6 separate regions of the Homo sapiens genome follow, and regions 1, 2, 3, 4 and 6 are each linked to region 5. The links are contacts of gene promoters, found by promoter capture Hi-C in blood cells and fetal thymus (Javierre and others, 2016). All regions are on one chromosome and are shown on one strand. Each heading gives the region's core, a stretch centred on a gene start or on the middle of the fragment in contact. The rest is flanking DNA. Distances are from core to core; before and after follow the strand shown.

The links. The method cuts DNA at HindIII sites, captures the fragments that hold promoters and counts their contacts. A CHiCAGO score of 5 or more calls a contact.
Region 1: a fragment that was not itself captured here is called in contact with the fragment with the promoter of GPD2 in region 5 in 1 of 17 cell types (megakaryocytes); the score reaches 7.1 in megakaryocytes.
Region 2: a contact is called between the fragment with the promoter of ACVR1 here and the fragment with the promoter of GPD2 in region 5, in 1 of 17 cell types (monocytes). The highest score is 6.1, in monocytes.
Region 3: a contact is called between a fragment that was not itself captured here and the fragment with the promoter of GPD2 in region 5, in 5 of 17 cell types (megakaryocytes, M1 macrophages, M0 macrophages and 2 more). The highest score is 16.0, in megakaryocytes.
Region 4: a contact is called between a fragment that was not itself captured here and the fragment with the promoter of GPD2 in region 5, in 2 of 17 cell types (M0 macrophages and neutrophils). The highest score is 6.2, in M0 macrophages.
Region 6: a contact is called between a fragment that was not itself captured here and the fragment with the promoter of GPD2 in region 5, in 3 of 17 cell types (M0 macrophages, M1 macrophages and M2 macrophages). The highest score is 5.9, in M0 macrophages.

The regions. Positions count from the first base shown.
Region 1 is chr2:155,393,231-155,397,535 of GRCh38, reverse strand. The region is part of intron 1 of LOC105373699 (a long non-coding RNA gene); the gene reads right to left. Among named protein-coding and RNA genes, the nearest start is that of KCNJ3, 700 kb to the right of the region's middle. The HindIII fragment of the contact is 1,127 bases long and covers 2,140-3,266 here.
Region 2 is chr2:157,874,682-157,878,945 of GRCh38, reverse strand. ACVR1 (activin A receptor type 1) reads left to right here and starts at 2,616. Exons shown (of 11, transcript NM_001111067.4): 1 at 2,616-3,150. LOC105373714 (a long non-coding RNA gene) reads right to left here and starts at 2,362. Exons shown (of 2, transcript XR_923518.3): 1 at 2,230-2,362. RefSeq lists silencers at 2,055-2,244, 2,265-2,504, 2,565-2,784, 2,795-2,844, 2,935-3,144 and an enhancer at 2,375-2,669. The HindIII fragment of the contact is 1,597 bases long and covers 1,701-3,297 here.
Region 3 is chr2:155,373,708-155,377,809 of GRCh38, reverse strand. All of the region lies in intron 1 of LOC105373699 (a long non-coding RNA gene), which reads right to left. Among named protein-coding and RNA genes, the nearest start is that of KCNJ3, 680 kb to the right of the region's middle. The HindIII fragment of the contact is 597 bases long and covers 1,197-1,793 here.
Region 4 is chr2:157,472,151-157,476,653 of GRCh38, reverse strand. The region is part of intron 3 of LOC105373712 (a long non-coding RNA gene); the gene reads left to right. Among named protein-coding and RNA genes, the nearest start is that of CYTIP, 30 kb to the right of the region's middle. The HindIII fragment of the contact is 2,625 bases long and covers 1,108-3,732 here.
Region 5 is chr2:156,434,609-156,438,634 of GRCh38, reverse strand. GPD2 (glycerol-3-phosphate dehydrogenase 2) reads right to left here and starts at 2,256. Exons shown (of 17, transcript NM_000408.5): 1 at 2,122-2,256. RefSeq lists silencers at 2,135-2,544, 2,985-3,154 and an enhancer at 2,695-2,744. The HindIII fragment of the contact is 5,965 bases long and covers 1-4,026 here.
Region 6 is chr2:157,448,841-157,453,058 of GRCh38, reverse strand. No RefSeq gene overlaps it. Among named protein-coding and RNA genes, the nearest start is that of CYTIP, 6.9 kb to the right of the region's middle. The HindIII fragment of the contact is 1,181 bases long and covers 2,254-3,434 here.

The sequences.
Region 1 (4,305 bases), core at 1,454-3,953, 1.0 Mb after region 5:
TGGCTGATTTAATCAGTATCTTTTCATGTAATAAACCACAACTATGACTATAATAGCTTTCAATGAGTTCGGAGAGTCCTTCTAGTGACTGACCAAAACAGGGTGGTTTGGGAAATTTCCAATCCTCCAATTGATGTTGGAAGAGAGAAGGATCTTGTGTGGATTTTTTTCTCTAACTATACAGTAGCCAGCACTCTCACAGTTAGTGTCAAAAGTGAGTGTGCAGTCTGTGAACGTTGTTCTCTTTAACTTTGTAGTCAGCAAAAGTGTTCACAGCATGTATCAATCTTTTGAAATGTGGTGTGTCTTTTTTTTTTTTTCTTGAGACGGAGTCTCCCTCTGTCACCCGGGCTTGAGTGCGGTGGTGAGATCTCGGCTCACTGCAACCTCTGCCTCCCAGGTTCAAGAGATTATCTTGCCTCAGCCTCCCGAGTAGCTGGGATTATTGGGGCCTGCCACCACATCTGGCTAATTTTTTTGTATTTTTAGTAGAGATGTGGTTTCACTATGTTGGCCAGGCTGGTCTCGAACTCCTGACCTCACGATCCACCCATCTCGGCCTCCCAAAGTGCTGGGATACAGGCGTGAGCCACCGCGCCTGGTTAATGTGTCATTTTTAAAAGCATAATCATGTAATTTAACATCAATGGAATTAATCCCTGATGAAAAACTGGTCCTTGCTGTAGCATAAATCCATAAAATAGTCATGGATAGTAAGAACCATAGATATGTCAACTTGCCGGGTGCAGTGACTACTTGCTTTGGCATGAGACAAGCTAGAGGCTGCTGCTTTTTGTCATTTGGGCTTAGGGTGTCAGCATACTCAGTGTCTTAACTAGAGGAAATAGACTCCCAGAGGACCTCGCTAATTAAACAGAATATTGTCAGTGTACATAATAGAAATTTTGCATGTTCCTAATCAGCAATTAGAGAGTTCCTGACAAATGTAAGGAAGAGATTGATCAAGTTCCAGAAGTGTAGACTGAACATATTCTGGCATAGGTATGTCCAGATAAGGAAAAATGTGTCATAAACATGATTCAAATGGGCAAGTCCGTCGTTGTCTCAGAAGCACAGAGCGGGACCTCTTTTGACTATCAAGATGGTAAGTATTCACCTTGTGTTCCATTTTATGCCTGAGTCATCACCTCAAGAGGACACAAATGTTCTCATTCTATTTCACTTGAAAATATATTTTAAAAAATTTAATGTTTTAGAAAAATATTTCAATTAATAACTCCAATGGCTTTAATCATGACCCTAATTTTGATTAAACTCTATGTGAAAGTGCATCTGACTACTGTAACCACCAAAATCTTCTTATCCCTCCACAGTAATGTAATGGGTGGGCTCAATTACTGTAGTCTACAAGGAAAGACTTCTATTCAATAAAATCTTCAATTTTTTTTTTCTAAATATACATGTACATACATAACATAGAAATTCTTACTACATAAAATATTTAATTAAAATTATTATTAATAACATTTTGTTTTCCTTCTGTAAACAACTTAGATGGGAATAACACACAAGAGAAAATGCCACTTCCCCCGTTGTTAGTACCTTATAGCTGCCTGTCTGTTGATAATTATAATTGGGAATTAGTTTTCTTTTTAATCCTACTTTAGAAGTAAGTAGACATATCATAGGGATAACTGGTATTTTAAAAAATATAATAGTGGGATAGGCCAGGCTAGGCTGCATTAATAAACAAACCAGGTTCTCAGTTAAGACACAAAAAGTTATTTCCCATTCAGGCTACATATTCAAAGAAGGTCAGGGCAGAGATTGTCATCAAGTATCCAATATGACAAAGTCTCCACCATCTTGAATGACACCATCTGGATCACTCACTACCCATCATAATAGTAAGTATTTTTTAAAAAGATTTGCTTATTATCAACCATAAATTGGACATATAAGATATAATAGAAAGGTAACTTTCAGAAAGTACTGAAAGTTAAATTGTAAGTCTGTATTACAGACTGCCCAGCTAAAGAAAAGGTTTAATTCAATTGGAGAGGGAACACGAAGTGCATATAAATGCTTTCTTTTAACCCTTTTTTAGTGATAGAAGTCTAAGATAAATTTTTATCAACTGCACTACAGAAAACCTATCCATTGCAAGACATGGAAGCTTAAAACAATAAACCATTCCCATAATAATATAATAATATGAACATTCAAGTCAAATTTAGGCATTTTAAAAAGTGGTATTTCGGAAACTGGCAGGAAAAACAAACAACAACAAAAAAAAAACAGATCACTGAGAATAGTACTAACGGGGATCCTCACCAAAGACAAAAGAGAAAACAGAGAACGCTGGCAGGTTGTAAACAAATATACAAAATCAAGCATGTATATAGGTGATTTCTGAATATTATAGGCCTACTGGTTTTCCCACTGTCTCCAAAATGTATCATTCTAAATCATGTTGTTGTAACTCCACATTGATTCATATGTTCCAATTATCAGCTTCAGGGTGGTAATAGAGGACCTAGGGAAAGTCTCACTCAAGGACTCTACTAGTTGGCCGGAAATTGCAGGAGTCTAGTAAACCTGAGTACTTTGATTATTCCTTCTGCTCTCTACATTCTTTGGTAGGGTTCACCTTGAATAGTGAGTGCAAAAGAGATTGTGGGATTATTTGACTAATATCTGTCTTTGCTGGACTGGGGGCATTGTGAGGGCAAAGCAATGTCTGGGTTGCTTACCACTTTATCTCCAATGTCTGCTGTGTATTGTGTTTAGAGTTACTGTTCAATAAATATTTTATGAGTGAATAATTGAAAAGTTAATGTTTACATGAAGTTTTCAGATTTAGAGAAAGTGAAAAAAGGGATATGTTCTAATTCAGGTGAATTTTATATCGTTTAAAAATATGTACTGGAAAATACTTTCAAATATACCCAGATTTGCTGAAAGGAGAAATAAAAAATTAAATACAAGAGATCATAATATTTAAACTTATAGATTATATGCTGTAATACCTGAAGAATATAAATATATGAAACATTCACTTTCAGATTTGTATTTTTCCCAAAGAAAAAGCCACATCAAGTATATTTTGTATATGTTTAATTAATGATGTGTTTGAACAGTTCCATTGGGGAGCAAATATAATATTTGGTAATATAATTGCCTGAAGCACAAAAATTTGAATTATTAAGATTGGTTATTTTATATAAGGTTCTTCAGATAGTTTCCGTTTACAATATTTTTCTTAGAAAGTTCTATCAGAAATGATTTTCTGCCCCTTGAAAGCTTACATCTTACTTATAACTCTCTCCGATACATGGAGGACTGGATAAACAAGAATAAGTGAAATACACATATCCCTAGTGTGATTTTAGCAATTAGCTTCGAACTCTTCCACACCAATTTTTATGGAAAATTCTTGCAAGTAATAATATCTACTGATTTAAGTTTTCACACCTTTTCCCTTCCCCTGCCAATCTCACTAACAAGCAAGGAGTAGAAATACTAACAAGGTGATAACTGTCCAAAAGGTGGACAGCAGGAAGAAGAAGAAGGGAGGCAAAAGCCTTGAATAATTGACAACCTAGATAATCAGCCCCCGCATAATTACAATCTTACTGTATTCTACATGTAATTTAGAAATGAGTCACATTATTATGGGTAGAGGTGGTTTAGGTATTAAACTGAATATTGGCATGTTAACAGTCGTAATACATTTGTGATTACAATAGTAATTTTTTCTTTATAATTTGAATATTTATTTTTTCTTCCAAAAGATTTAGTGCCCATTGGACTGTTGTATAAAAGTTAAGCTAAGGTAATCTATAATTCTTTCCTTGCATTTAACAAGAAGTACATGAAAGATATTTAACAATCTTGCTATTTTGGCAGAAACTCAAAACAAACATATGTAACAGTTTTCAAGAGAAATATCAAGCAGGCAGTGCCAAATCAAGGCATTATATTTAGTTTGCTGTAAATAATATGGTGTTTGCACATACTCCATTCTGAGACTGGTCCTGTGTACTTTCTAAAATTAGTAGAATACAGGACAACACCTTTCTTGGAAGCCAATCATAACTCATTTTCTGATTGAAAACTGTGTCCAAAGCAAATGTAGATAAAAAACCAATCCCTTCAAATTAGAGCTAACCAAAGACAGTGATACATAAGTAAAAGTATTTAAGTTATTGAGTAAAATTTATCCATGATATAAATATGTGAAAATTACAGTGCCTTAAAAATAGTCTGTTCCCATGCTTTTTGAAGACATTATCTGAGGTATATTTTTGGGGAACATTTCATACATAAAATGAAAGACCCATT
Region 2 (4,264 bases), core at 1,367-3,866, 1.4 Mb before region 5:
ACCCAGCCAAAAATGTCAATAGTGCTAAGGTTGAGAAACCCCGGATTAAGGTGTCCAAGCCAAAGGGCTGTATCCTTGTGTGCACAGGGCTTGTGTGGAAGGCTGTATCCTGCTGGAGGAGTGGAGGAGCCTTTTGCCTCTTGCTTTACACACACACACACACACACACACACACACACACACACTTTATGTCGAAAGGCCACAAGTACTGTTACAGGACCCCAACACTTACCCAAAGGTAGCCGTTGGGTCAGGGTTTCTGCACTAAAGTCCCTTCTGTGGTTGCCAGGAATATGTTTTAGGGCAGGGGTCCCAATCCAGACCCCAAGAGAGGGTTCTTGGATCTCACGCAAGAAAGAATTCAGGGCGAGTCCGCAGTGTAAAGTAAAAGCCAGTTTATTAAGAAAGCAAAGTGGTGAAAGGACACCTACTCCATAGACAAAGTAGGATGTTGCCGAAAGTAAGAGGAGGAACGATTCCATGCTAGGTACATCGCTCGTATATATAGGGAGATGTGCTCTGCTACAAGAGTTTGTGATAAATAAATAAATTACTATATTTTGCAAGAATCAATATTATCTTTAAAGCAAAATTAGGAATGCCTTTGTTCTCCAGATATCGGGATATCTGGACACTCCCAAGTCTGGGTTTGTTTAGTAAACACTATTAATTTGTTCCCTTAGCTGTAAACATCTAGAGGCTAAGAAAGCCTAACTTCCCGAGAATGCAGCCCAGCCAGTCTCAGTCTCATTTTCCTAGCCCTCATTCAAAATGGAGTTTCTCTGGTTTGAATGCCTCTGACAGTACCATCCAGAATTCTCCCAGTCTCCTGGCACACTAGTAAGTCACAGGAGGTTGAGTTAGAGTGTTTTTCACTGAGCCAGCCATACAATAAGACCACTATTGAAGGAACTGCTTAAGGAACAAATAATAGGAACTGTTCAGAGCATAACAGGATTCATTAATTCATTTATTTACCTACTCAGCAAAACTTTATTGAACACCCACATGAACCCTTCTGCTAAACATTGTGATACATGATGAATACAATCAGACCTGGTCCCTGCCCTCTTGCAGCTTACAGCCTGGGAGGGAACTCTAAAGGTTACCAAGAAGGGCCAGTTTGTACAATGAGGACTCCATGAATGTACATCATTGAGCTTCACAAGCTTTCACGTTTGTAATCTCATTTGAACTGCACAACCACCTCACGAGACAACCTGTATTCCCTTCTTAGGTTAAAAATGTGCCCCAGTTCAAAACAGTTTGTAAGTGGCAGAGCTGACACTTCAGCCAAGTGACAATGAGGGCCCTGTTACATCATTCTATAGAGCAGGGATACATATAGGTGCTCTTGCCTTGATTGGTACTGAACTTGCCTCTCCTGCTCCTCACCAATCATACAGGTACAAAGCTCTCTTTATGAAAAAAATGCTCCCACCTACTCCATCCTTTTGCTTACAGCTGGGGATTCTAGTTTTTTCACGTATATATGCCTTGTATTTCTAATTAGATTGTAAACTCCCAACCTGCAGGGACCAGATCTTCCATTTCCTTTGCAACCTTTTGCAGTACTGCAGTCACCCAATAAATGCCCTCTGCATGAATGAACCTGTAGAGATAAAAATACTTTATGGCATTCCCATTTATAGGTTTCATGTTTTTATTCTGCTTTGTGATAGGACTGTACATTATAAGCTTCTAGAGGGCAGAGAAAATGGCTTAGTGCTTTCCTTTACACTCAGCAGGAACCATGCAAAATTTGATCCTTGCATGCCTTTTTGATGCTCTGGGTAATATTAGCACACTGGGGTGTTTTTGTGTATCTAAGGACCGAGGTTATCAGACTCTCTGCAGCGGAGAATGTTCCTGCATTTCCACTGTAAGCTCCCATGGCGCCTAGGACAGGGCTAGATCACTGCAGAAGCCCCTCCATGCTTATTTCTGTTACTAAGGAAGCCAAAGGCGAACATGGCAAGCTCTGTCATAACCCTAGACCTTGCAAGGAAATGAGCAAAGTGGAAGGGGATCTGAAGGCAGGTCAGAGATGGCCTGGATGAGAATGCTAAGGCTTCTCTCTGAGAATCCAGCCCAAGTCTGACATGCAGGGCTCGAGTAGGTGGCCGCCCGCAGTCGCCGGGCCCGGGATGCCCGCCCGTCCGCCCGCCTGCCCCGCGCGCCCTCGGGAGCTGTCCAGACGGCCCCGCCCGCGCCTACCTGGGCACTCACCCGTGCCGCGCGGCCTCTTCTCCTCCCACCCCGGCCACAGGAGCCCAGCTCGGGCCTGCCCCGCCGCCTCCGAGGAGCCCCGCTGGCGGCGCGCTCATAGCTTCCACCCGGGCCAAGCGACCGGCCAGACAGCGCCAGGCGCGCCGGGGGCGGCGCGGTCAGGCTCGGCGGGGCTCGGCGGGCTCGCCCTCGGCCGGGCGCCTGCAGGGGGCGCGGGGACGGCCCCGCCCCGCCGCCTCCTCTCTCCCCTCCCGGCTCCCTGGATCCGCGCCGGGAGGAAATGATGTGTTGCTGCCTGGTTAATCACAGCTCCAGACACTCATTGGCCGAGCGCTCCGCAGCCACTTCCTCCTCCTCCTCCTCCCGCTCCTCCCGCTCCGGCTCCTGCTCTTTGCAGCCGCCGCCGCCGCCGCAGCCTCCCCCTCGGCGCAGGGGGAACTTTTCTACTCTCTGTGACGGTCTCCCCCGCCGCCCCCGGGGGCAAGCCCAGCTGGTCCGCCCGCCCCGCCCGCGGTCGTGCTCCCAGCCCGAGCCTCTGCGCCTCGGGAAGTTTATTCTGCCCGCCCTCCTCCCCTTCCTCCTCCTCTTCACCCCGCCTCCCCGCCCTCCCCCGGCTCTTTCCCCCGGGTGGCTGCCGCTGCCGCCGCTGCCGCTGCCAGCCTGCTCCTCGGCCAGCCGCGCCGGCCCCAGGGCCGGGAAGCTCCCGGCCCCACGCACCGCTCCGCTGCAGCCACCGCAGCCGCCGCCGCTCTGGGCCGGCCCTCGGCCCCCGGCTCCCGGCCCCGCAGAGTTCCGGGCTCCCTCGCCGGCTGCACCGCCCCGCCCCGCCCCGCGCCGCCCCGCGCCGCGCCGACCTGCAGCGCCCGGCTGCCTCGCACTCCGCCTCCCCCGGCTCAGCCCCCGGCCGCGGCGGGACCCGAGGTGAGCGCAGGTCGCCGGCCGCGCCTGCTGGAGCCGGGAGGACTGAGGGAGGAGGTAGCCTAGCGGGAGAAGAGGCAGGGATCGGGGGTGGCAGGGTGGGCGTCTGCGGTGCCTCCCCCTCGCTTTCATTCCTTTCTCCCCCAAGCTTGATCCCCTCTCCGTGGGGGAAGCAGCCGCGGAACAAAACTGTCTTGCTTTGGGCCTGAACTGCTGGTGGGATATGGGGGGTGGGGGGGCAGAGGCGTGGAGCGGGGGTCTCAGGTTTGTATTGGGGTGTGTGTGAGTGCGTGTGTGTGTGTGTGTGTGTTGTGAACTCCTTCAGGGTGTGCGACTCTGACTTGTAAATCGATCTGGCCGCGGGGCCACGGGGCTTACCTTCCTAGCTGAGCTTGTAGAGAGTAAGGAGATAGATAGGCGAATTTCCCCCACCCTCAAAATATCCATCTCTTCCAAGAGGAATTTTCTGCTGGAGAGACAGCCAATAAACTCTGCTCAACTCCCTCCCTCCCTCGGTTCTTCCTAGCTGCAGTTTCAAAAAGCTTCAAAGCCAGGAATGTGGGATTCATCTTCCGATCCCCAGAAGGCAAATGTGGTTACAGATGTTGCACGGTACTTTGCCAAGTTTAAAACCCTTCCTTCAACACTGTAACCAAAACAGTGAGGCTAGAACCTCGGGCGCACTAAGAAGAGATGTGGGCCTCTGGGGCCGCTGGATTCAGTAACTTCCGTCGGGTTCTAGACTGGCTCGGCTCTGTCCAGTTTGTGCCAGATAGTCTCCCACCCCCTCCCCACCCCTCCTTTCCCCTGGAGATTTGAACGCTGCTTGCATGGGAGAAAAGCTACTTAGAGAAGAAAACGTTCCACTTAGTAACAGAAGAAAAGTCTTGGTTAAAAAGTTGTCATGAATTTGGCTTTTGGAGAGAGGCAGCAAGGTAATACAATGGACTTGTCAATTTTATTGGGCTTTTCTTTCTTTTTTGAGGGATGTATGATAAGAGTTAGATGATGGGCAAAGGGGCCCGTTCCATACATGTTTTTACATATTTTTGAGAAGAGGCCCATGAATTGAGACATAACCCAGTGGTTTTAAAGAATCCTGTCCCAGAGATGCAGA
Region 3 (4,102 bases), core at 246-2,745, 1.1 Mb after region 5:
ACAGAAATCAGGTATGCTGTCCTCTGGTTTTGCTTTAAGATAATCGTAATAATAAAAGTTTGGGTTAGGCATCCATTTATATGTGAAAAGTAAAGAACACTGAGCAAGGCAGAATCCAGAAGCCAAGATATAGCCAGCGATGTTTAAGAGAAAGAGCCCCGGCTGTAAATGTGCACAATATTCCACATTATATACATGTCATTTCTGAGTACTGTTGGAACGATGCGGTGTCAAATCTGTATGACAGATTGAGGTGAAAGCTGGGAAGAGAGAGCTTGTGAAAAAGCAGCCCTGACTGAGTGGGGCATCCTATAGGATTTATCCTGCAGGCTAAGTAACCAGCTTCATCTCATAAAAGGAAGAGGAGAACCGGGATAATTGTCTACTAATTTAACTAGCTCATTTGGTCATTGTATTATTTAAATTGTATTCAAGTGTAACAATGCCATCTAGTGATGAGATTCTAAACTGATCTTTTAACTGAAATCCTGGTTAAGGTTAGAAGGCAAGTGTTTGGCTATTAGATAGCACTTTAACTTAATATTCTATGAAATAATAGAGCACTCCCAATGTCTGTTTTAGTGTTAGATAAATTATCCATACAAGATAACACAAAGGACAAAATGAACTCCCTCCCTTTTTTGCCTTTTTATGCAGCCTTATTTTTATGTGGGAAGTTCATGTTCAATAGTAAAACATCCTATGATTTTCCATCAGTCTGTGACCTGAGTTTATAGCATCTCTGATATTTTCTCATTCAATAGATCTTTACAATCAATTGTACTGAAAGCATATCTTTTATTTAACCTTTGCTTTTCGAAAACAGTATTTGTAAAACTTTAGCTAACAAAATGATCATTAGTTATTTCTTTTCTTTTACCCATCTCCACTTTTTGCTTCCAGCATAAAACCAGCTCTTCTAAAACATGGAGGTCAAAGTTCTTCAAGATCATAATTCATGTTTCTCCATGGCAATGACTACTTATCACATCATCCTGTTAAAACTTGAAAACAACTTATACCTTTATTGAGAGAAATATAAATTTATAGGAATACACATTTTAATTGTAATTGCTTGCCTGAAATTTGGGCAAAAGTGATTTAAAAATAAGAACTGAAATAAAAAAAGAATAAGAACTAAAATCAGTGGAAATAGATTTTAGGATTATCTTTACTATTAGTTAATTATATAAGCTTAAATTTAAGAGACAGGTTCTTCGGCTTCAGTTTCCTCTGGGAAAAAAAAATGTGTGGATCTGACAAAGTAATCTCTAATATATTTTCCACCTACAAACTTCTGGGCCCGTTAAGTAGCTGATAAATAAAATTTTTAAAAGAGTGGAGCAACAGGAAGAGTTGACTTTGTTCTACTTCTGGTCTTTGTGGCTGCACTCCAAGACTTTGAACTCTTCTTCAGCAGATGTTTAACAAAATGTGTTGTTTGATAGATTATCCTTAACACTTTAGGCATATCATCTATAGGCAGGGAACAGAGTAAGGGAAGATATCCCAGTGCAGGATAAAAATGTATAACATTCGAAATATTGCTTCACATCAATTTTTATATCAGCTATATTCTAAAGTGTTTTATGTAGACATATGACCCCCAAAATTGAAAAAAAAATGTTATGGTATAAAGATGTTGCATCACCCACTTTCCCCTCACTCAATAATGTGTAATGACATGGTACCTTTCTTTTTTAATGTTTCATGCAGAAAACAAATTTTATATTCCAATCCCTAAAATTTCAGATGATATTACAAAATTTTCTCAATTGTCTAATATATAAGCTTTTTCGAACAGGAAAGGTGCTACCTGATGCCATGGAAACCTACATATATTTTTAGTTTATATGTAGAAAAATTAAAATATCCTGATTTTAATAGTAATAAACAGATACTAAGACTCCCTTTCTGATAAATAAATTAAAAAGTCAGCATTATATCTTCTTAAAAGAGCTAAGGGTCATTTGTTATTCACTTATTTTTTGTTCTGTAAGTTTCCTTATGTATCTTTCATCTTATCCACCATAGTAACAATATTAAAATAAATAGCAGATTTTTCTTCAGTTTAACTATTATAAAATGAAGTTACTTTTAGTATATTGTGATTATTTACCTACTTATTTTTAGTAGTTGCATATTCTAATTCAGGATTATTAGTGAAGAATAGGTGAGTGCAAGTCCAAATTATTTGTCATATATATATAAATCTGTACTCGGTTATAGGAATTTTTTTTAGTAACAAACCAAACAACACGAAAACATAAATAAGGCAGGTATAATCTCTGCCTGATAATGTGACTTGAGAGCAAAACTTGGGAAATTACAGCTCCCATTCCCAGTTAAAAGACAAAGACCAAATACAATAAAAACAGATATGCGTGTGGTCCAATAACAATGTTAGGAGCATACCTGTTGGATTTCACAATAAATATTTTCGTTGAAAACATTTATAAACTAAATTGTATATTGTTAAAGAAAATATTCATTAAATAATTAATTAAAATCAAGACACATTTTATGTTTTAAATTCTTCCTCCAACTTTTTACACTTTGTATTTTTCTTTCTGCACATGCTCTCTCTTGCTTGTGCTCTCTCTCCTCCTTTTCTTTCGTTGCTTTCTTTCTATATTTGTTATTCTTATATGATTTCGAACAAAATATATAATTTTATTGATAAATTATCTGGTTTTATGAATTTTCTTACTTTGTTATGTTTTTTGGCCTGAGCTACAATAACAGCTGTAAATCCATAAGACTTTGAATAATAATGCATGTGAAGAATTTTAATTTCTTTGAAAAAAACTTATTTATTTGAGGTTATTAGACATTATCATTCTGATAACCTGCGAGATCTTATAAATCTGATTTTTTTGGCTTTGTCAAAGCATTTTTTTTTGCTTTAATACATGCCAGTTTATTTCCACAAATTGTTCATGAGAATGAAAAACTGGCTGATAATTAGTTCACTAACATATTTTACAAATATTTACTACAATCAAATTCACCCTCTAAAATCTCAATATAAATTTTAGGATATATTGAATCATTTTGAAAAACCACAACCTCTCTCTTGCTGCTCTATCGATGTGGTGCCTAATTACTACTATATTTACTATTTATTTCACCTAAACGTCTCTATGGTTATAACAACACAACCTTGATTTAACCAATTAACAAGTAGAAAAATCAATAAAACAACTAGATGTTTTTCAATATATTGCCACAAAAGATATTTAAATTTGTGTTTTTTTTAAACCTGACCTCAACTGTTATTTGAGTAGCCTGATAATATTGATAAGTTGCAGTTTTGTGTAGTAAACAGAACCCGTATGTTATAGACTCTTGGGATTGAAGCAATAGGCCTAGCTTATCTGTAAAAGGCATGATTATACATTACTAAGCTACTCAAACGATTGATTTAGTAGAATTACAGAGAATAGAATTACTCATCTAATATGTTTGCTTTAAAGATGGCAAATAAATTGGTTTATGGGAAAATGTTTCATTACTCAAACTGCTGTTTTTTAACGTTATCTAGGAAGATTGGTAACATACAACCAGTGAAAAAGAAGAGTTGCTAAAATAACTAATGAAGTAAATTTTATAAATGTGAATAACTTAGTCAAAGAAGGTTCCTGCCATCATCATCCTGGGATTCAACTGTTTGTCAAAGATCTCAAGAGTACCTCCTTCATGTATATGAAATAAATTTAACCGTGTTATGAAGTTGCAAATAATTTACATACTGACAAATATGATTTTTGAAATCACAAATTCTATTATTTAATTAAAATAATTTATCAATACATTAATTTTCTTTGTGATTGACTTTGTAGGCTTCTATCCCTAGAAAAAAGTTAAAAAAAATCCCAACAAAAAGAAGGTATTTACATTCAGTTTTATTTGTATATTCAAAAATTCTTGTTACTTTCTAAGACATTAAAATAAGATTATACCTAAAGTAGCAAAATTACAACAGAAAACTTTTGTTCCTTTTTTTTTTTTTGATTTATTTAGCTCACCACTCAGCTAGCCAAAAAGTGTCTGAAAAGTAAGGGGAGTCTACACTGCTAGCTAGTCATGACATGGACAATTT
Region 4 (4,503 bases), core at 1,171-3,670, 1.0 Mb before region 5:
ACAAAATGAAGACAAATAACCAACACATGTAAGAAACTGTGATTTTCATATACATTTGAAGAAAATAACAAAAGAGAAAGCGGAAGTGCTTAAAATATGAGCAAAGTATGAAAAATACTCTTTTTTTTGTAAAATATGAAGGGCGAATTTTTAAAAATGGAAAATAAAGCAAAATTAGTAAGCATTTTCCACAGAGCACATTTTATCAAAGACTTTTAACTGGTAATAACTAAAGCTGTTGGGAGTTCTGCAAGATCAGTAACTTCATGTACAATCTTTCTGCCAATAATTTAGCAATATCCATCAAGAGACTTAAAAATAGTTATATTTTTCAGACCCCTATTTTTTTAACTTTTAGTTCTGAGGGTACATACGAAGGTTCATTTACATAGATAAACACGTGTCATGGGGGTTTGTTGTACATATTATTTCATCACCCAGGTTTTAAGCCCAGTACTCAATAGTTATCTTGTGTACTCCTCTCCCTCCTCCCCGTCTCCACCCTCAAGTAGACCCAAGTGTCTGTCGTTTCCTTCTTTGCGTTCATAAGTTCTTATCATTTAAAAATGAGAACATGCAGTTTTTGGTTTTCTGTTCCTGCATTAGTTTGCTAAGGATAATAGCCTCTAGCTCCATTCATGTTCCCACGAAAGACGTGATCTTATTCTTTTTTCATGGTTGCACAGTATTCCATGGTGTATATGGACCACATTGCCTTTATCTAGTCTGTCATTGATGTCGTTTGATGGGCGTTTAGCCTGATTCCGTGTCTTTGCTATCATTAATAGTGCTGCAATGAACATTCGCATACATATGTCTTTATGGTAGAATGATTTATAGTCATCTGAGTATATACCTAGTAATGGGATTGCCGGGTGGAATGGTGGTTCTGCTTTTAGCTCTTTGAGGAATTGCCATACTGCTTTCCACAATGGTTGAACTAATTTACACTCCCACCAACAGTGTATTAGTGTTCTCTTTTCTCTGCAAACTGGCCAGCATCTGTTATTTTTTTGAATTTTTAACAACAGCCATTCTGACTGGTGCGAGATGGTACCTCATCATGGTTTTGATTTGCATTTTTCCAGTGATCAGTGATATTAAGCTTTTTTTCATATCCTTGTTGGCCACATATATCGCTTCTTTTGAGAAGTGTCTGTTCATATCCTTTGCCTACTTTTCAATGGGGTTTAAACCACTATTTTTTAATGTAAGGATTTATACTAATAGTTATATGGACAAAGATTTATGTTCAAATTTGATCACATTATTATTTCTAACAGTGAACTATCAGAAATAACAATATTTAATAAAATTAGATTACTATCAAACTAGAAAATTATGGTTCTGCTATAGTATGGACTGTCATATCACTATTAAAATCATGTTGTGATTAGTTATTAGTGATAAAAGAAAATTATAGCGGGTAGTGTTAGTGTTTAAGTGTAACAAGATAGTGTTTTAAGATACACTATTTAAGTGTAATAAGAGAATATACATAGTTATTTATGCATAATTATCTCATCTGGTTAAAATCAATAATAAAAAAGGACTAGGGAGGTTAAGACAAATGTTCATGATGATTTTTGGTGGTAGTGGGATCCTCTCTACTTTACAAATTATCTGCAACAGAGAGATAATCATGGGAAAAATGTATTTAAATAAGGAAAAGAAACAAATACAAAAGGAAATACCGAGACAAATAAAAAAGGGCAGATCATTAGAAATGGTGAGAGGCTCACGGATATGACTACAAATCTGAAGTGAAGGCAGAGTTGGAATGGAGTTTAGAGCAAATAGAAATACTGGAGTAATTCGTGCTCATGGCCAGCTCCTTCAAAGCACTGAAGTGTATAGAACGGCTGCAAGGAAAGACCTGAGCTTCTCTGTCTTGTGATGAAAGTGAGTTTTGTTTTTCTAAAACAAACCAGTTCTCTGCCCAAATTTACATTTTTATAGATGCCACATATATTTTCAACCTCTAAAATATTTTGGTTAAGATGTTTTCAAAATAATAAATCTTCAAAATCAGTCTCTATTTTCTCTTTATTTTGTTTAAGTCCATGACCTTTCAATTTATGCAATATTTTAATTTTGGGGGAGGGGGGCAGCAAAAGTAGATGTAATTTGTCTATTAGCTATTACTTTGATTTTTATAGTCTAAATATGTGGAAGTTTCCAACTTTCTTATCTTTATTGCAGTTAGACTTTCTAAAATGCCTTAGAGGAGTTTGAAGGTCTCATTATTTTCTTCAAACACTTTATTTCCCAGGAAGGTAGATATTTGTATCTCTTGCCTGTAGAATCTGCTCTATGGTTAGGAGAATTTATGTCCCTATTTTTTAGTTCTCACTTGGATTTCTTGATACTGAAAAAAGCCTCCTGAACTCAGGCCTTTACATACTTGTCCTCAGCATAATGGATGCCTGGTCCACACACTCATGTTCATTTCTTCAGTTTCTCCCTCCCTCTTCAAATTACCCTGGGGCCTTGATCGTGTCTTCTCTTGCTATAGCCTGTCTACCACTACCTAATCTCATATTCCAGCAGTAAGTGATCACTTATGTAGGCTGAGAGGAAAAAAATGTTGTTTTCCTGAATTTCTTTTTAGGAAATAGCAGTATATTTTTGTTAAAACATAAACATAATTGCTTATGCCCAATAAACTTTTACAGAAATAAAATATACTTAAAACTGTGTTTTCCATTGAATTGTCACTACAACATTTCTTTCCTCTAGAACATTTCTTTGCATTTAGTCTTAGTAAGATTGCATTGGGTTCTCCATCAGCCCAAGGTATGAGATGCTGGTTGTTGGATCTGCAAAGCATGACTGAGTCCCAGGGCATTAATCATCATGGCATATGCATTATTTTGCTGCTGTGCTCTGCTGAGCCAAGGAGATGATGCATATGTATTCACACTCCTCCACTCTCACTTTCTTCTTCCATCTATACTTTCTCTCTGAAGGCAGTTTTGGCTGCCACCAAGTACTGTACCCCAAATGCCACATTTTCAAATGCAAATGCCTGTTTACAGGAACATCTTGTCCCTTGGGCCAGTTCATCTCTCTGTGGTACATACCTACCGGTAGTATAGCTATAACTTTGGCTGCTGCTTTGTAAGTATAAAGTCACAACCAGAATTGTAACATGCAAATTTAAAACTGGAATGTCTACAAGTAGGCTCAAATACCTTTGGAGTCACTAAGTTTGTTTAGAGGCATGGAGCTATATTAGCCTGGGACTTGACTTCATGTCCCATAAACCCCTCTGTTCCCTCTTGGAATCTGTTGCCATTAACCTGTGATGTATGTACTCTGCCACCATTACCTCTAGCTCTAGCACTCATCCATTCATATGGCAAATATAGAGAGAGCACCAACCATTGCCAGGCACTCTGCTAGGTGCTAGACATGCACAGTGGAAAAGAGGAAAGAGCCTGTACCATGAGAGAGCTTACGGTCTAGTGGAAATGCAGACAAGAGAGCTAATTAAAATATGCAGTGTTAAGAAAAATCCTCTGTGCTGTAATGGAACCCAGTCCACAGGAAGGACACTCAGATTACCCTTTAGAAGGAGTGATGAAGGAAAGTTTCCCAGAGAAGTAATCCAGAACCCAAAAAAGAAAGGCTTAAAGCTGTGGGTCTCATGCTTCCAGGTCTCCCCCAAAGGATACACTGGGATTCCAGGAGTTCCAGGGTGACAAAGCAGTCAATCATCCAAACCAAGCTTGGACAGGCTATGGCAAGTAATGGGGACATACAAATCTTTAATCTCTGTTTGCTGTTGGTGATGATGGCATCACTGAAATTTTTGAGGTGTATTCTCAGGGTTATTTAACACACATTAAAAAGAAAAATGTATTAAAACTGATTTTTTTTCATGAAGAAAAATCTTGAAGATGTTTCCCTGGATTGAAGAACTCTTCTGGGGTCTGACCACAGGTCTAACTTCTCTGGAGGTTGGTTTGATACCCACTGGAGTGACCTCTGAGAATGGACCCCACTAGTGAATAGCCTCATTAGAGAGGATGTGGGTGGAGAAGGCTGAAGTGATGCTGCCATTTCTCCAGGATGCCTTCTGTAGATTCATCTCTGCTCTGCTGGGAAGCAGACTTCACTGACTCAAATTTTTTTTTTTTGATATTTTAAATTTTGAGTTAGGGTCTCACTCTGTCACCCATGCTGTAGTGCAATAGTGCAAACTTGGCTCCCTGCAGCCTTGACCTCCCAGGCTCAAGCGATCCTCCCTCCTCAGCCTCCTGTGTAGCTGAGACCACAGGCACCCGCCACCATGCCCAGCTAATTTTTTTTTTTTTTTTTAGTTTTTGTAGAGATGGGGTTTTGCCATGTTGCCCAGGCTGGTCTCAAACTCCTGGGCTCAAGTGATCTTCCCACCTTGGCCTCCCAAAGTGCTGGGATTACAAGTGTGAGCCACTGTGCTGGACTTCAAACTTCTTGAACTTTAGCATTCTCATGCTTGCCACAATTGTTCTTCAGAGC
Region 5 (4,026 bases), core at 1,007-3,506:
AGTTTTGGAAAACCTAAACAGAAACATCATCACATTCAAAAACTAAAACTGAGAAATTAGATACTGATCTGAAAATTGCTTCCCTTCTCTAATAACCATAGCTACCACTAACTCGCCTCTCCTCTCCCCATCCCAACACACTCAACTAACCGAAAAAAATGTACGGATAATTCATGCACAACATGCAAGAATTCTTTGCCCAAATTTTCAAGCTAACTACATTCTTTGCCCATATTTTCCTACTTGAGTATAAGAAGGAAAAATATAGGATGGAAGCTAGTCTTTTGAAGTCTACTACTTGCCAGGTACATTGCTAGCAATTTTACACACGTCATAGCATTTATTATCCATATTTTGCCAATGAGACAATTGAGGCTGAGTTTTAAAAGATGACCTAAGGCCAAAGTCTTTGGCTCCCCGCTCCACAACTACCCTCAGCTGGAGTTTGTTCCACAGTTCAGTCGCTCATTGAGAAAACATTTATTGAGGGTGTATTACAAGCTAGTCACCCCTCTAGGCATTGGAGGTCACTCATTGAGAAAACATTTATTGAGGGTGTATTACAAGCTAGTCACCACTCCAGGCATTAGAGTTTTGAAAGTATGCAAGACAGAACAAGCCCTGCTACTCTCATAGAACTTACACGCTAGAGATGAAAGAAAACAACCAAACAGGATAAGTTCAGAGTTATAATAGTTTGCCAACATGAGTTATGCACAATAATCATCAAATCTTTTAAAATATCTACAATGAGATTAAATAGTTACAAAAAAAACTAAAGGGGGTGGTAACACTCACTAACAATTGGTAACACTGTGGCCCTTTTGTCAATTCCTGAACCAAGCCATTGCATCTTTGAATGAATCACAAGGGAGAAAGAAGGAAGCAGAGCTCTAATGCTGTTTAGAATTTCTTTATAAAATAAAGTGACTCTATAAGCTATGAGAATGGACAGTTGCAATGAATCCATTGTTGGTTCTCAAACCCAAAACCCCATATTTACCCATTTATTCATTAAAATATTGCTGTATTATTTCACGAGTTGATTTGTAAAAGTCAAGGGAGTGTTGTAATTTGACATAACGCCCCTGTGAGAAACAGAGGGGGGTTTCAACATCCACATCACAAGGTTCCCCAGACTGCACACGGTCTCCATTGGGCAATGGCATCCAGATGTCATGTGGTAGCCAGCAAGAACTGTAGGACTGGGACTAGAGTGGTCAGTAGCTACGAAGAAGTGCCTGGGCCCAGTGTGACAGCTGCCAGCACCGTCCACACGCCAAAAAGAAACTTCACATCTCTTTAAACTTGGAACACATGCAAAATACTAACAGTTTTGTTTTAGCAATAAAGACTCCCTGTCACTTACTAACTTCCTTCCCTCACCTATTTATACAAGTATAAGTTGACTAGCTGCTATTTCTATAGCTGCCTCCTATGATATTTATAATGTGTTGTGTGTGATTTGGGTTGCCCATGTCACTAACACTTTGCAAGAATTTGTGTTTGTAAATTACTCTGGAACTCTTCTGGGAGTGAATATTCCACTGCACAAGGTGGAAGCCAGACTAGAGACCATCTGCTAAGAGCAGCACTTCATTCACCCAGCTACACCTTCCTGCCAAAGCACTCTTTGCAAATCTATTTTTGCTGGTAGAAGTTACTACATAGGGAGTGGAGGCTGTTTTAAGTTATCAGTGTGCACCTTCCATTTCCTCCTAGGACGGTCACACGCCAGCAGCTGAGTTTCTCAAAGAAGCCTCAGCCCTCCTCCAGACTCGTTCTCACTCTTGCTTCGGAAGGGAGCAACAATCCTTATCAGACTAGCCGCATCTACAAGCTAAAAGTTTGCATGAACTTTCAATGGGGTACCAACCCTCGCCCCAAAAGTCCTGCCACTTTACTATTTTACAAATGCCGCCTCCAAAACATAAACAACGAAACCCTAGAGAAGAGCGAATCCATCTTCTGCTGGTGGGAAGAAATTCTAAATCTTTCCCGTTTCCCGCCACCACCTACCGCCAAGACTGGAGTCCCAGAACACTCGCCCGGGTCAGAAAGGGACCACTCCCCCCCTAGAATACTAGAGGCGGGGGAAGGGGTCTCCCAGGAAGCACACACCTGAGATAGATCCTCACGCGCGAGGGGCCAGCGGGCAGGAGCACCCAGTTCCTCCAGCCAGGGTGGAGTCGGCCTCCCCCCAGAATCAGAGCCTCGGCCCGGGTGCTCCCAGCGAGGCGCGCGGGGCTGTCACTCGAGGCGGGCTGGGCGGGTGTAACTCGAGCGCCGGGCGGGCCGCGCCCCCGCCTTCCCTCTTCCCGACTTCCTCCTCCCGCTCCCGCGCCTGCTCCCTCCCGGAGGCCTGACCAGGGCGGCGAGGCCGCCACCTCCTGCCCGGATACCTCGGGCCCAGGCTCCTCCGGCCCAGCGGGGAAACGCGGAAGTGGGGGCGGGAACCGGGGCCGGGGTTGGCGGGGGTGTGGGAGGGAAAAGCCAACAGCGGGCGGCGAGCGAGGTGGTCTCCGTGGCCCAATGAACGTGACTAGACGGGGACGCGGGTCCTGCCGCCGGGTGGGGTCGCGCAGCGCCACACGCAAGGGCCCTCGCCCCTGGCTGCAGTTCCTGCTTTGTGCCTCGGCGATGCCGGACTCCAGACCTCCGCCCCGCCTTGCCAGCGGGCTGGCGGACTGGAAAGCCTGAGCTAGGCCAGGCTGGGGAAGACGGTGGCGGTGTCCGATTTCCTGTGCCCTCGCCCATGCGGGCCGCCCTGGCCATCTGCCTGCGGGAGAGGAGACACTCGTCCGCCGGCACGCTGGCGGGGCTGGCTTACCTGACGACTTCTCGTTGTCCGCCCTGGGATCTGGCTTCTCCTACTCTGTACCTCCCGGCCGGCAGGCTTCCCTAGGCCTACAGACGTGTCCAGGAGGCGGGCGACCCTGCGACCCCGCCGTCAGAGCCCAGAACCCTCGCCCGGCTCCCCCGGCGGGCTCTGGAGGCGCGCCAGGCCTCCTGGCTCCCCGCCTGAATGTCAGCGCAGGGACCCGCAGGGAAGACCAAGCCCAAGCTCCAGGGGGTGGAATGCTGAGCACAGGTTCCCCAGACCCAGCCTCATACAGGTGGGGGGAGGCGGAGAGCCCCGGCAGCTGAACAGCAGGCTTCCCACTTGCAACCCCCCGCCACCCAAAAAAAAAAAACGACCCTGCCCACTGAGCATGCCCAGCTTACTTGTTGGAACTCCTAGGGCTAGACAAGCCCAAGGGGACCTAAGGAAGGCAAAGTTGGGGCTCAAATGGACCCCACTTCTTTAACAGCTTTGCTCCGAAGACCTCTGGGTGCTGTACTAATAACCTTTCTATCGTGGTATTGGAAAATATCCAGGAGATGGACGGAAATGCCTTTCCAAAAGAAGGAAGAAAATTAGTGTGAACCAAAAAGCAGTGGTATTTTTTTAAATAAAGTATTAAGTCACTCATTTAATGTCCTTAAATACCGCAGAATTCCTGTAGTTGACCCAGAGGAATGCATATATTTATTAAATCCCAAACTCAGTAACTTCAGGGAACCATCCATAGTCCACAGAGGAGCAATGATTCTCACCCTTGGACACATTAAAATTGGGGGGAGGGGGCAGGGAGGGGTGGAATGCCAGATTTCCATCCCCAAGTCCAATGAGTCAGTCTGGACGTGGGATCTGCAAGTCCTTGTATTTTAAAACTGGCTCTAAAAGTGTAGTCACTGGAGCCCGCAGCATCAGCATCACCTGAGAACTTGACAGAAACTGTACTCCAGTGACCTGATTCATAGACTCTGGGGCTGGGGCTGAGCTACCCAGATTTAACAAGCCCTTTGGGTAGTTCTGATGCACATTAAAGTTTGAGAACCACGGTTTAAAAGCTCCCCCAGTTGAATCATGAGCAACCAGAAAAAGGAAATTGTAGTTGAGAAAAGAAAAATAGTTCAGAGCATTTGAGCAATGTGAGGTATGCAAAATTTATCAGGCCCAGAGAGACCTTGAATATGGGACAT
Region 6 (4,218 bases), core at 1,595-4,094, 1.0 Mb before region 5:
TTAGCCTGTAAACCAACACCAAACAGCCAGTGGGTAAACCAATAATTCTCATTGGTAAGCATAAACAGAGGTATGAGGACCTTTAAAACCATAAGACATTATGAACTAAATGTGATTTGCTTTTTAAAATTCTTTGTGAATTGTTGATATTTTTAAAGTTGACCAAATAATATATGAATGCGTACTTACTATAAAAGATTCAAGCCATATATGGCATACACTTTGAACTTTCCTACCCATCTTCTCCCACAATGGTTCAAGAAGTAACCACTATTCTATTAACAGGCTGGTATATATCTTACTAGTCTTTTTTTTAATGTCTGTACATGTTAGTGTACATATATGTATGTGAACTTTAAGAAAAAAGTATAAATGAGATCACACCATACCTATTATTCTACCGTTTTCTCCACTTTGTCTTAAAACTCTTTATCAGCATATGAATGTTTATTGTATACTTTTCAATAGGTGCACAGTATTCCATTGAATTAAATTACCATAAATTATTTAACCAGTTCCCTATTAATGTAAATTTAAAACTCCGGTTTTTTGCAATCACAAACAATGCCACAAGAGTCATTCTTGAATTGTTTTTTGCACATATGGAAGTATTTCCATAGGGTCAATTCTCTCTCTTTTTTTTTTTTTTTTCTTGAGACAGGGTCTTGCTCCATCACCCAGGCTGGAGTGCAGTGGCTCCACCATGGCTCACTGCAACCTCTGCCTCCTGGTCCAAACCATTCTCCTGCCTCAGCCTCCCGAGTAGCTGGGATTACAGGCACCTGCCACCACGCCTGGCTCATTTTTGTATTTTTAGTGGAAATGGGGTTTCACCATGTTGGCAAAGCTGGTCTCGAACTTGTGACCTCAGGTGATCCACCCAACTCGGCCTCCCAAAGTGCTGGGATTACAGGCGTGAGGCCCTGCACCCTGCCCTAAGGGTCAATTCTTAAAAGAAGATTCACTACCATTAACTGTCAAAAGTGTAACACATTACATGTTGCACATTTAAAATTTGGATACTGTCAAATTACCCCACTGTTATTATGTCTTTATTGATTTGTATTCCTACCAAAAGTGTTTAAGTGCTCACTTACTTGCAATTTTGCCAATACTGGATTTCACTAACCTTTATTATTTTTGTTTATTTGGTGAGCAAAAAGTAGTATCTATTTCAGTTTTTGCTTTCCTGATTACTAATTAGGGTGAGTTCCTTTAATAAATCTATCGACAATTTGTATTTCACCTGTAAATTATCTGTTCCTAGCCTTTGCTATTTAAAAATACTTTGTTGAGAAGTATAATTTTAAGAACTCTATTACAACCATTGAGCAATTTTCTGTCACAAATAATTTCTTGCTATCTTTCACTTAGCTTTCACCTGTGAACATTATAGCTTTCATTGAACAGAAGTTTTTCATCTTTACATTGCTAATGCTTTCTGGGCTCTTATGTATTGTTAGGAAAAGCATTCCCAACCTAATTATATTAAATATTCTATATTTTCTGCTATTCTTTTATAGATTTTAAATTATTTTTACTTTTCTAACTCCTTAAGCTGCCTGGAAATTACTATTATATTATCATAAAAAGCTAAGATTTAATTTTTTTCAAATGGGTTCCAGTCTTATTTATTGGAAGATATATTCTTTTCCTAATACATTGAAATAACTTCTTGGAAATATAAATTTCTACATATGCATGTGTATGTTTGGGGAGTCTCTATTCTTTGATAATATTGTATTTATAGACATTCTTTTTATTGACCTTTCCTGTTTGACAATACAGTTCTAACCCATATAATATTAAAGACAGATTTCCCAATGCCCATCCTTACCTCCATCTCTTACCTCTTTTATTTTCAGATTTTTCTTGGCTAGTCTTGTGCACTTTCTCTTTCAGATGAGTGTGAGAACGTGTGTCAAACTTTATAAACAAACAAGCAAGCAAACACACAAAACCTACAGAGATTTTGACTTGCAGTGAACTATTTTAGAACATTTGGGGATAATAAACGTCTTTACAAGATGGGCTCTTCTCATATGAGAACATGGCATACCTTTCCTTAGTCCGGACTCTAGAATTTTCTTCATAACATCTTAAGAATGCTTGCTAAATTCATTTCTGTTTTATGACTTTTTGGCTATTTTGATGTGTCTTTCTCCCATTCTTATAAGTTCTTTTGTAATAAGATAATATTATAGTATAATATATTAACAAATATATAACATAACTGTTATTGTATAAGAAGCTTGTTTCTTTATATTTGTATGTTGTCTTTTGAATGCTATACTTCAGAAAAATTCTCACCAGGTTTTTGTTCTTCATGAATTGTCCTGGATAATCTAGTTATGAAGCCGTATAATCAACAAACTTGACAGTTTCATTGTGTTTCTTTATAAATTCAATATCTTTTGTTTGTGATATACTGTAAAATTGTGAAGAGTGATGATGGTTATGGTCATCGTGGTCTGCCTTTTTACAATAATGAAAACATTTACATTTCAATATTAAGGTTAATGTTGGGTGGGTATTTCTGGTAGATACTCTTCATTATGGTAAGGTATTTTTCCTTCTATCCCCAGCTTACTTGGAATTTTTAAAAGCAAAAATCAATCTTAATAGCTGCGACATCTATTACATTGAATTTAATTTCTTTTTAATGCAGAAATTTAGTGATTTTATTTTATTGCCTAAGGTCATACTCTTTGCCTCAAATAGATTTGAATGAACTCATTTCAGTAAATTATTCCTGCCAGGCGCAGTGGCTCACACCTGTAATCCCAGCACTTTGGGAGGCCGAGGCGGGTGGATTACAAGGTCAGGAGATCGAGACCATCCTGGCTAACAAGGTGAAATCCCGTCTCTACTAAAAATACAAAAAAATTAGCTGGGCGTGGTGGCGGGCGCCTGTAATCCCAGCTACTCGGGAGGCTGAGGCAGGAGAATGGCGTGAACCTGGGAGGCGGAGCTTGCAGTGAGCCGAGATCGCACCATTGCCCTCCAGCCTCGGCGACAGAGCAAGACTCCGTCTCAAATAAATAAATAAATAAATAAAATAAAATAAAACAAATTATTCCTATATTCAAATAGAAACAGCCCTCTTCACTGAAGCCAATTTCTATTGGGTGTGGTGAATACAATTCATTTATTTCATGGTTGTTATGGCAGCAAGATAAAGATATATATGCATCAGGTTAAAAATAAAACTAAATGAAAATTATCTATCCATCTCTCTATATAGACAGGTGGTCTATATGCCTCTATATCTTGATCTTGACGTTTATATTTGATTGGACATATTCTTAAATATTTTATTAATCAAGTAACTTTAAAATAAAAATAGCTACTTTTTAAAAAATACAATAGTCCTCAAAGAAGGAAAATACTCCGGGTAATAAGTGGTCAACCAATTATATATTTCTCTTAAAGCTTTAATCTTTCTTGGAAAGACATCTTCATATTATAGAACAATTCCCTTAGTACAAAAATGTTGTTCATTCCGGTTGAGTTAAACCCTCTCTACCTTTGTCTTAATAGGTTAATGAACAAAAGTTTGTTTTGAATGAATTTTAAACAAATCCAGAATTAGGGTTCCTTTAACTATTGGTTATCCTGGTTACTTTGTGTTTCTTTTTAAAGGGATTTTTGCTGTTAGGGCTTTATCTCTCCAAAAAGGTGATAGTCTGTAGAAATTGGGGAACTCATTAGAGGGCTGACGCTTTTTTTTTTTTTTACAGAGTGATTCAATAGTCTACTGTTCTTCACACTCTATGTGAAGAGTCTTTTCTGTTTTCTATAAGCCTGTATTTTCATTCAGTTTTATTTTTAACCCGATTAAATTATGTGGTATGAATGGGAACACAATATAAAGCAAAGCAATTACAACTACAATGGTTGATGTCAGGGCTGAAAGTCTCAGAATCCCCCCTCTCATACCTTTCTCTTTTTCTTCTTCTTCCCTTATTTCCCAGGACATTCAAAGGATCTCCTTACATTTTCATGAGTACAGTTTTAAAATCATTGCATAGACTACCTCTTAAGACTCAAACAACCCGCATTCACAGAGCATTTTGTATAGATATATGGATAAGTCCACAGGAGAAGCTGCCTTTTAAAACCTATGCACATCCTGACTGCTTCCAGGTGGCCCCAATACTACTGTGTACCTTCAGCATGGACCCTTCAACATGAAGCCATCTCTGCCATATGCCCAAC